2 separate regions of the Homo sapiens genome follow, and region 1 is linked to region 2. The links are contacts of gene promoters, found by promoter capture Hi-C in human tissues and cell types (Jung and others, 2019). All regions are on one chromosome and are shown on one strand. The core of a region is centred on a gene start or on the middle of the fragment in contact, and the rest is flanking DNA. Distances in the headings are between cores, read along the strand shown. Region 1 overlaps TANGO6 (transport and golgi organization 6 homolog). Region 2 holds the start of HAS3 (hyaluronan synthase 3).

The links. The method cuts DNA at HindIII sites, captures the fragments that hold promoters and counts their contacts. A contact is called where the count stands out against the background at its distance.
Region 1: a contact is called between a fragment that was not itself captured here and the fragment with the promoter of HAS3 in region 2, in 1 of the 25 tissues and cell types used here (mesenchymal stem cells).

Annotation. Positions count from the first base shown.
Region 1 is chr16:69,065,523-69,070,169 of GRCh38, forward strand. The region is part of intron 17 of TANGO6 (transport and golgi organization 6 homolog); the gene reads left to right. Among named protein-coding and RNA genes, the nearest start is that of HAS3, 38 kb to the right of the region's middle. The HindIII fragment of the contact is 7,887 bases long and covers 1-4,647 here.
Region 2 is chr16:69,102,251-69,107,464 of GRCh38, forward strand. It overlaps HAS3 (hyaluronan synthase 3), which reads left to right and starts at 3,403. Exons shown (of 4, transcript NM_001199280.2): 1 at 3,403-3,537. RefSeq lists an enhancer at 3,068-3,616 and a silencer at 3,750-4,029. The HindIII fragment of the contact is 9,378 bases long and covers 1-5,214 here.

The DNA of each region.
Region 1 (4,647 bases), core at 1,395-3,894, 37 kb before region 2:
ATCTCCAATTTGCACTTTAGATGCTCTCCTCATTTAGTAGCCAGAAAGGGTAAAAGTGCCATTTATCTCTAGGTCTAGCAGAGAAAAATACTCTTAAAATAAAAGGTTTTTGAAAAGCTCAGTAACCTCCAGTTAATAATAATGCCACTGTGAACTTCAGTGTGTTTGAGATTTTCTATCTGTCAGGCATGGGTAGAAATCTCTTAGACATTAGTAATCCTGCCTTTCTTTACTGACCGTCCTGACGCTTTCAGTGAAGTGTCTCAAAAGCCTGGTCTTTCAGGTTTGAATTGGCCCTAATTTCTTTTTCATAGACCCATCAAAGTGAAAGTTTGGGTTTTATCAGGAAAGCATTATTCTTCTTCAGTCCAGAGCTCCTGAATGAGGTCCAGATTGTCTGTGTCCATTCTGCTTCCCCAATTTATTTGTTTCCTGCCCATTATCTTAGAGAGGCCACTCGCCTCAAAGACCTTGGAGTCTGGCCCCTTTCTGCTTCCCCGGCAGAATTCTTCCTGATGCTTTCCATTCTGCAGCATAGCTTGATCAGAGCTTCCAGTGTGCCAGCTACCAACATCATCTGACCTGCGCTGGCCTGATACTGTGTTCAGACTACATTAAATTCATTTCCCCGCATCTACGCCACCTCCCTCTTCCTCTCACTCGCCTTCATTTATTCATCTGCCCAGCCACTCTGCCTTTGGCTTCTCCTCTCTAGTCTTTGTTTTCAGAGCTGTGCCTTTCCCCCTCCTATTCATTCATTCATTCATTTGTTTATTTATTTATTTATTTTGAGATGGCGTCTCGCTCTGTTGCCCAGGTTGGAGTGCAATGGCGTGATCTTGGCTCGCTGCAACCTCTGCCTCCCAGGTTCAAGCAGTTCTCTGGCCTCAGCTTCCCAAGTAGCTGGGATTACAGGCACACACCACAATGCCCGGCTAGTTTTTTTGTATTTTTAGTAGAGACAGGGTTTCACCATGTTGGCCAGGCTGGTCTTGAACTCCTGACCTAAAGTGATCTGCCCACCTTGGCCTCCCAAAGTGCTGGGATTACAGGCATAAGCCACCGCGCCCGGACTTCCCCTCCTATTCTTATTCCTTGGTGGTAAACCCAATTTTCTTAATGTGGTGGTAATAATAACAATACTTTGAATTATTTATCACTTTGCTGATGATAGTGAAATACTCTCACATACATTATCTTTTTTGATCCCCACAATATACTCGTAAGGTAGGTGGTTATATGTGCCTTATGCCTCCCACTCCATGGTAGTGAAAATAATAACCACTTTGAGAGGCTGAGGTGGGGGGATTGCTTGAGGCCAGGAGTTTAAGACAAGCCTCGGCAAAATATCAAGACCCCGTCTCTACAAAAAATTTGTTTTTGTTTTTGAGATAGGGTCTTTCTTGCTTCGTTACCCTGGCTGGAATGCAGTGGTGCAATCACGGCTCAGTATAGCCTCAACCACCCAGGCTCAAGTGATCTTCCCTCCTCAGCTTCCCAAGTAGCTGGGACCACAAATGCGTGACACCATGCCCGACTAATTCTATTATTTCTTGTAGACAAAGGGTCTTGCTGTGTTGCTCAGGCTGGCCTCAAACTCCTGGGCTCAAGCAATCCTCTCACCTTTACCTCCCGAAGTGCCGGGATCATAGGTATGAGCTACTGTGCCTGGCCTACAAAAAAAATTTTTTTTTTATTAGCTGAGGCTGGGCACGGTGGCTCATGCCTGTTATCCCAGCACTTTGGGAGGCCAAGACGGGTGGATCACCTGAGGTCAGGCATTCGAGACCATCCTGGCCAACATGGTGAAACCCCATCTCTACTAAAAATACAAAAAATTAGCCAGGCGTGTTGGCGGGTGCCTGTAATCCCAGCTACTCAGGAGGCTGAGGCAGGAGAATCGCTTGAACCTGGAGACCTGGGAGGTGAAGGTTGCAGTGAGCCAAGATTGCGCCACTGAACTCCAGCCTAGGCAACAAGAGCAAAACTCCATCTCAAAAAAAAAAAAAAAAAAACGCTGGGCGCCGTGGCACACGCCTATAATCCCAGCACTTTGGGAGGCCAAGGCGGGCGGATCATGAGGTCAGGAGTTGGAGACCAGCCTGGGCAACATGGTGAAACCCTGTCTCTACTGGCCGGGCACAGTGGCTCATGCCTCTAATCCCAGCACTTTGGGAGGCCGAGGCGGGCGGATCACTTGAAGTTGGGAGTTCAAGACCAGCCTGACCAACATGGAGAAACCCTGTCTCTACTAAAAATACAAAATTAGCTGGGTGTGGTGGCACATGACTGTAATCCCAGCTACTCGGGAGGCTGAGGCAGGAGAATTGCTTGAACCCAGGAGGCGGAGGTTGTGGTGAGCCAAGATTGCACCACTGCACTCCAGCCTGGACAACAAGAGTGAAACTCTGTCTCAAAAAAAAAAAAAAAAAAAGAAAATAAACCCCATCTCTACTAAAAATACAAAAATTAGCCAGGCATGGTGGCACATGCCTGTAGTCCCAGCTACTCGGGAGGCTGAGGCAGAAGAATTGCTTGAATCTGGGAGGCAGAGGTTGCGGTGAGCCAAGATCACACCACTGCACTCCAGCCTGGGCAACAGAGCAAGACTCTTGTCTTGAAAAAAAAAAAATTACCTGAGCATGGTGATGCACACCTATAGTCCCAACTGCTTGGGAGCCTGAGGCAGGAGGATCACCTGAGCTTCAAGGCTGCATGCAGTGAGCTATGATCGTGCCACTGTACCCCAGCCTGGGTACAGAGAGACTCTGTCTCAATAATAGTAATAGTCATAATAAAAACCGCTTTGAGAGACGGTACAGTATAGTGATTAATAAAGAACACTACTCTGGAGTCAGGCTACCAGGGTTTGAATCCTGGATCTACCCATTACTAGCTGTGTGAACCTGGGCAAATTGGAAATGATAATTGTGTTGTGGGGATTGAGTTAATGTAGACAAAATGCCTGGAATCATACCTGGCATATACCAAGTACTATGTAAGGATTAGCTACCGTTGCCATTCATTCATTCTTCAAAGATTTACTGCATGTTAGGCTCTCTTCCAGGCCTCAGTGATGTAAGAGTTACAGGATGGACATAGTCCTGGCCCTCACAGAGGTCACAGTCTTCACTGACAAACCATCACTTCTTTAGCACCCACCATTTGCAATTCCTTGTGCTTGGATCTTTGTTTTTGTTGTTGTTTTGAGATGGAGTCTCGCTCTTGTCGCCCAGGCTGGAGTGCGGTGACGCCATCTTGGCTCACTGCAACCTCCGCCTCCCAGATTCAAGCAATTCTTCTGCCTCAGCCTCCCGTGTAGCTGGGATTACAGGTGCCCGCCACCACGCCCAGGTAATTTTTTTCCTATTTTTAGTAGAGAAGGGGTTTTGCCATGTTGGCCAGGCTGGTCTCGAACTCCTGACCTCAGGTGATCCACCCGCCTCAGCCTGCCACAGTGCTGGGATTACAGGCATGAGCCACCGTACCCAGCCATGTTTTTGGATCTTTAGATACATTAATTCTTATTGCAACCTTCAGGAGGCAAACTTATTCCCATTTTATAGACGAGATCACTGGGGTTCCTAGAAGTGAAGTAGTTTGTTCAAGATTCCCTAGCTAATAATTGGGAGCTCTAGGGTCCACTTCACTCAGTTTGCCTGCCTCCTGACCATTAGGCTTAATTCTGTGTGTCTGCCTCCCCAACAGGGTGTGAGCTCCTGGGTGTGGGAGCCATTCAGCAGAATACTTAGCCTAGTCTCCTGCACACAATGTGGGAAATTTTGCTGAGTTGTTCTCTACTGACAATTCTTGACTCTCTGCCCCGTAATAGTCTCATCTGTTCCCTCTCACATCTCTTAGCCACAAAATCACATCTTGGGCAAGATGAAGGTGCTTAGAAGTTGGACTGTTGCTTTCTGACAGATTCATACCACACCTAATGCTTATTCCAACATGTTTTTAAACAGAACTAGTCGGATTCTGGAGTCTTCTCTTCTGGACCTCAATCTAGAGAATCTTTTTTTCTGCCAGGACAATCTCCAGCCACCAGCTCCAGTTCACCTCTTTCCCCTGTCTTCACCTGTCTTATTATTTCGGTGTATAACTTGCGTGTTATTCCTCTGTTTTTGTCTTTGTGCCTCTTATTTATTTCTCAACCACAAAGGGAGTCACAATTGGTGGTTGATAGGATTGTGTGGAATGTAGCCTTCTTTCTTTTTGATCTTTGTTTGCTTCATCTCTTGTTTCTATAGAATATTGAATTTCTAAATACAACTGTTACAAGGAAAGGGGTCTCCATTCCAGACCCCAAGAAAGGGATCTTGGATCTCGCGCAAGAAAGAATTCAGGGCGAGTCCACATTGCAAAGTAAAAGCAAGTTTATTAAGAAAATAAAGTAGTGGGCCAGGCACGGTGGCTCATGCCTGTAATCCCAGCACTTTGGGAGGCCGAGGCGGGCAGATCACATGAGGTCAGGAGTTCAAGACCAGCCTGACCAACATTGCAAAACCCTGTCTGTACTAAAAAAAAAAAAAAAAAAAAGCTAGGTGTGGCATGTGCCTGTAATCCCAGCTACTCAGGAGGCTGAGGCAGGAGAATCACTTGAACCCAGGAAGCGGAGGTTGCAGTGAGCCGAGATCGTGCCAC
Region 2 (5,214 bases), core at 2,153-4,652:
CCAAATAGGAAGGCTTATTTATCCTCTGGAACCTGTGGAAAAGCCAATTCAGCAACATCTGAATTCATGTTTTTAAGTGATTGGGTGTGGAATTAGCCCTATTTCTAAATCCCCAGTGGTAAGCAGAGATAAACTCGAGCTTGATTGTAGCAGCCCCTTAAAGAAACCCCTCCCCACCTCCCCGTGAAGGGATGAATGCAAATAGGACACCACAAACTGGATGCTAATTACAGGCAAATCCTCCCTGGCATAGACTGCCATAAAGGTAAAGACTCTCTTATCTGCCTGATAACACCAGGTCCCTGGCCCTGCAGATCAGAAAAAAAGAGAGTGCTCCCTAGGGCAGGCCATTTAGGGGGCAAAGCCAATTAATTGGTACAGGCAGGGTGTTTGTTGTCCTCATGAGGTTCTATCTGGACCCACTGTTGGTTAAGGAGGTTTTCATGGACTCGTGAGGTTGTGCTGAACCAGCCCCACCACCTGGAAAACTCCGTGGAGCTGGCGGCGTGAGAAGGGCAATAAGCCTTGGGACACAGTTGGAGTCTAAGAAACTAACTAGGCATGAGATGGTCCTGGCCCAGCCCCAGGGAGACAAACTTGCACCCAGAGAAGTCATGTTGCTGCTGAGTGAGGACGGAAGGGATCCTTCCAAACTGGCTTCTCCATTCCTTGGGCTTCTAAACAGGTCACTTACAAGCAGCCAGTTGGCTGGATATGACTCAGACACATTATGTCTGGCCTGTGGAGTGTGCATGTGTGTGTGTGTGTGTGTGTGTGTGTGTGTGTGTGTGTTTCCTTCAACATTTGAATTACCAATGCTTAAAAAAATTAGGAGATTTCACATACAAAATCTGGATTTCTGGCTTCTCTTGACAACAGAGCACCTGGCCACATGAGGCCCTCCCTCCACAGGGAGATGAGCCTCTAAACGGAGCGTTTGCTCTCCACCAGGCTGATGCACTCATTTTTGCCCTTGCCAAGCCCCTGCTTATTTTCTCTGATGTTGCAGATTGCAAATCTGGGAAGGAGGAAGGATCAGAGATATCCTCATCTGCAGCAACTCCAGGGGTCTGTGATGCCTCTGGGTGTGCAGGAGGTAGCCCAGGGCTCCAGGGTTCATAATGCAAGAGAGACAAGACATTTTTCTTTCTTTCTTTCTTTTGAGATGGAGTTGCCCTCTTGTTGCCTAGGCTGGAATGCAGTGGCACGATCTCGGCTCACTGCAACCTCTGCTTCCTGGGTTCAAGTGATTCTCCTGCCTCAGCCTCCTGGGTAGCTGGGATTACAGGCGCCTGCCACCACACCTGGATAATTTTTTGTATTTTTAGTAGAGACAGGGTTTCACCATGTTGGCCAGGCTGGTCTCAAACTCCCGACCTCAGGTGATCCACCCGCCTCAGCCTCCCAAAGTGCTGGGATTACAGGTGTGAGCCACCACACCCGGCCAGGCAGTTTTCTTTTATTCAAACACTGATCCTTGAACTTGCTGTCACTGAGTGCTCTAGAGGGATGGCCATGTAGAACCCGTGGCATGGGCAAAGGATGCTGCTGTCTGGTTTACTAACACTTGCTGAGCGCTTACCCTCAGCCAATCTCTTCAAACTTCCTATCAGTCCGCCTAGCAATCCCATCTGTGGGATGAAGACACTGGGGCTTACTGGCAGACTCTAGAGCCCTCCCCTCCACCAACCTAAGGCTTCTTCTCCATCTTTGTGTAAGTAGGAATGGCTCTGGTAGGGCCCCTCAGGCCATCTGAAGTTCAAAACACATTGGCAGCTGGGCTGGATAGCATGCCTATAGGACTAGCTCCTAGGGAGGCTGAGGCGGAAGGGCTGCTGGAGTCCAGGAATTTGTTTTTGAGACAGCGTCTTGTTCTGTTACCCAGGCTGGAGTGTAGTGGTTCGATCATAGCTCACTGTTGCCTTGACCTCCTGGGCTCAAGCAATTCTCCTGCCTCAGCCTCCCTAGTAGCTGGGACTACAGGCACACTCCACCATGCCTGGCTAATGTTTTTTTTTTTTTTCTTTTCTTTTCTTTTTCTTTTTTTTTTTATTTTTATTTTTTGAGATGGAGTCTCACTCTGTCGCCCAGGCTGGAGTACAGTGGCATAATCTTGGCCCACTGCAACCTCTGTCTCCTGGGTTTAAGCGATTCTTCTGCCTCAACCTTCCCAGTGGCTGGGACTACAGGCACGTGCCACCATGCCTGGCTAATTTTTGTATTTTTTAGTAGAGATAGGGTTTCACCATATTAGCCAGGCTGGTCTCTAACTTCTGACCTCGTGATCCGCCCACCTCGGCCTCCCAGAGTGTTGGGATTACAGGCGTGAGCCTGCACCCGGCCCTGGCTAATTTTTTAATTTTAATTTTTGTAGAGACGGGGGAAGTCTCGCTTTGTTGCCCAGGCTGGTCTTGAACTCCTGGCCTCAAGCGATCCTCCATCTTCAGCCTCCCAAAGTGCTGGGACTACAGGTGTGAGCCACTGTGCCTGGCCAATAATGTAAGATGGGATTGTGTGGAGTAGGTGTGCCTGGGGTCTTTGCTTGCCTGCGGGGACTGAGGTGTGAGGTCTGTGGCCCAGACTGAGCAATGGTGGGCAGGCAAGTCCCTGAGCCCCTAAAACTTGCGAGAGGAGAAGTTTATAGACTGCAGCTCAGGTGCCTATAAATTTGTTGCAGCTTGGGAAGAAGTGATAGAAATTATATCAGGTGTATTTGGAAAACAGGTAAACTCTGTTTTTTGGTTTTTTTTTTTTTTTTTTTTTTTTTTTTTTTTGGAGACGGAGTCTCGCTCTGCTGCCCAAGCTGGAGTGCAGTGGTGCGATTTCAGCTCACTGCAACCTCCACCTGCGGGGTTCAAGCGATTCTCCTGCCTCAGCCTCCCGAGTAGCTGGGATTACGGGCATGGTGCCCGTAACGCCGAAAGTGCTGAGATTACAGGCTTGAGCCACGGCGCCCGGCCACTCATTTTTTAAAAACTAGTTATTAATTATAATTTCTCTTCAAGTTTTCCTGAGATGTAAAAACTCATCGCCTTCAGCTGGTTCTAAACTTCTTGTCTCTGCTAACAACTCTCCCCCCTCCTCGATCTCACCCCACCCCAGTGCACCCCAACTCACTTCATCTCACTTTACTCGAGTCTAGCACTATCTTTTAGGGACCTGAAAACTACTGTCGATAAGGTCAGTTGGGAATTTAGGAGGTCATGGATGTCGGAAATAAAGGTGTGAAAAAGAAGAGGAGGAATTGTTTTGGCTTTAAGACACCGGAACCTCCAAGGTTCCTACAAAACCGTTTGCAGCTTTTGCAAACCGCCTTAAAGTCATCAGCGCCCCACTGCGGAATTCAAAGCTAAGCTGTCACAATTGTTAACACCTTCTTTGACCAGCCTTTTTACATTTGACAATTCTCTTCAGCGCCTCTTTCCTGCCAGCAGGAAGGTTTTGCTGCCTTGGCTTTCGGGAGCCCCCTAGACAGCGAACTGCCCCTTCGCGTGCAGAAGTCGGGGAAGAGTGCTCTCAGCTCGCCTTCCTTGCAGGGTGAGTAGGTTTTGCGGGTTAGAGAGCGGGGCGTGGGGGCGGGGAGGGAGAGTAACAATTTTGGAAGTCCCTGCGTGGTATCTGGAAAGTTAACGACGCTTCAGGTTCTAGGTTGAGCCCAATGACCGTCTTGCCTTGGCAGCTGGTCCCAGGGCGATTGCAGAGCCGCGTGGCCTTCGGCCCCACTCGGGGGACCCAGCTTCGGAGAGGGCGCAGGGGCTGCGAGTCTTGCGAGCCGGAGCCGCGTCCACCCGGGACTAGGCGTCCCCGCCGAGCGCTGGCTTGTGGCGCTCCCTGGGACCGCGCGGGGTCGGGGGTGCGCCCGCGGGGGCCCTCCCACTCTGGTCAACTTTCCCGGCCCCAGGGCCGGGGGAGGCGCCTCTCCTGGCGGGCACGCGCCGGGTACTTAAGGGCGGCTCGGCTGGGCAGGCGGCAGTCGGAGCGCGCGGCGGCGCGGAGCGGAGCGGGAGGAGGGGCATGGAGCCGCCGCGGGCCTGCTGAGCTCCGGAGCGCGGCAGCCGGCGGCACGGTGAGCGCGGGCCGGCCGGCACCCAGGAGGGGAGGGCCGCGCGGGGCTGCGCCGAGGCCGGGGCGCGCCGGGTGGCAGGGGTGCCTCTCGCCGAGCCCCCCGCACCCGGCCAGCTCCCAGCCCTGCGGGCGCCGCGTCCGGCGCGGGGAGGCGGGTTGGGGGCGGCGGCAGCCCCGGGCTTCCCGGCGGCCGTTCCTGCAGCCCCCTCCCCACTGACCCCTCCTCCCTTTCTTCCTGCATCCTCTCCTCTTCCAGCCTCGCCTCCCTCCTCCCCGGCGGCTCCTGTTTTGTGAATGAATTAGGAGGCGGACGCCGGTGCGGGGCTCCAGGCTGGCTGGGGTACCCCTCCCCCGCACCTTCTACGACCTCCCGGGGGTTTGCACCTGTCCGGGCACCAAGGTACCAGGCGCCCACGTTCCTGCGGGTTAGCCGGGCCGCGGCAGCACGTGTCCGGGGGAGTGGGCTCCCCTCCCCTGGCCGGCCTGGAGGGGCCCGGAGGGCGGCCGGGCACAAGAGGAGGAGCCCCGTTGGGCGCACAAGTTTCCATGCCGCTGCGTGTGGCCCTGCCGCGGGGCGCACCTGTCAGCGGGAGAGACGCTGCACACCAGCAGCCCCTCAAAGTTTCGGAGGCTTGATGGAGAAGCGTGCGTCCTTGACTGGGGGTTCTCCTTCCGTAGTCCTGGGAGCCGGACTTGAGAGCGCCCCCAACCTTGTGCCCTTGAAAGCCGAGTGCGCGTTAGTTTGCCTGGGCTGGGCTCCCGTGGATGAGCGAAGGGCATGAGGAGGCGGCGGTCCAGGCTGTAGGATCACCCCACAGCCTCTGCCGGCTTGGGGTGACACAGCCCCCCGCCCCAGGTCTGGGCAGGAGAACCTCGACCACAGCCTGCACCAGCGCCTGATTGCACGTGGGGTATCTGGCTGAGGGACATTTTGGGGGCCTCTATTTGGGGGTGGGGGTAGTAACCTGGGTAATGCCTCTAATTCCTGCGGGGGAGGGGTCCCGCCCAGGGAAGGAGAGGGCCGGCTACACCGGGGATGCGCCTTTGTCTACAGGCACACTTTGCCAAGGTAGCTGGGGTACCAGGAAGAGCAGGGCCTGGTCCGACTGGGATCCCTTGGGTTTTCCGTTCCTTCCCGGTTGGGTCGTG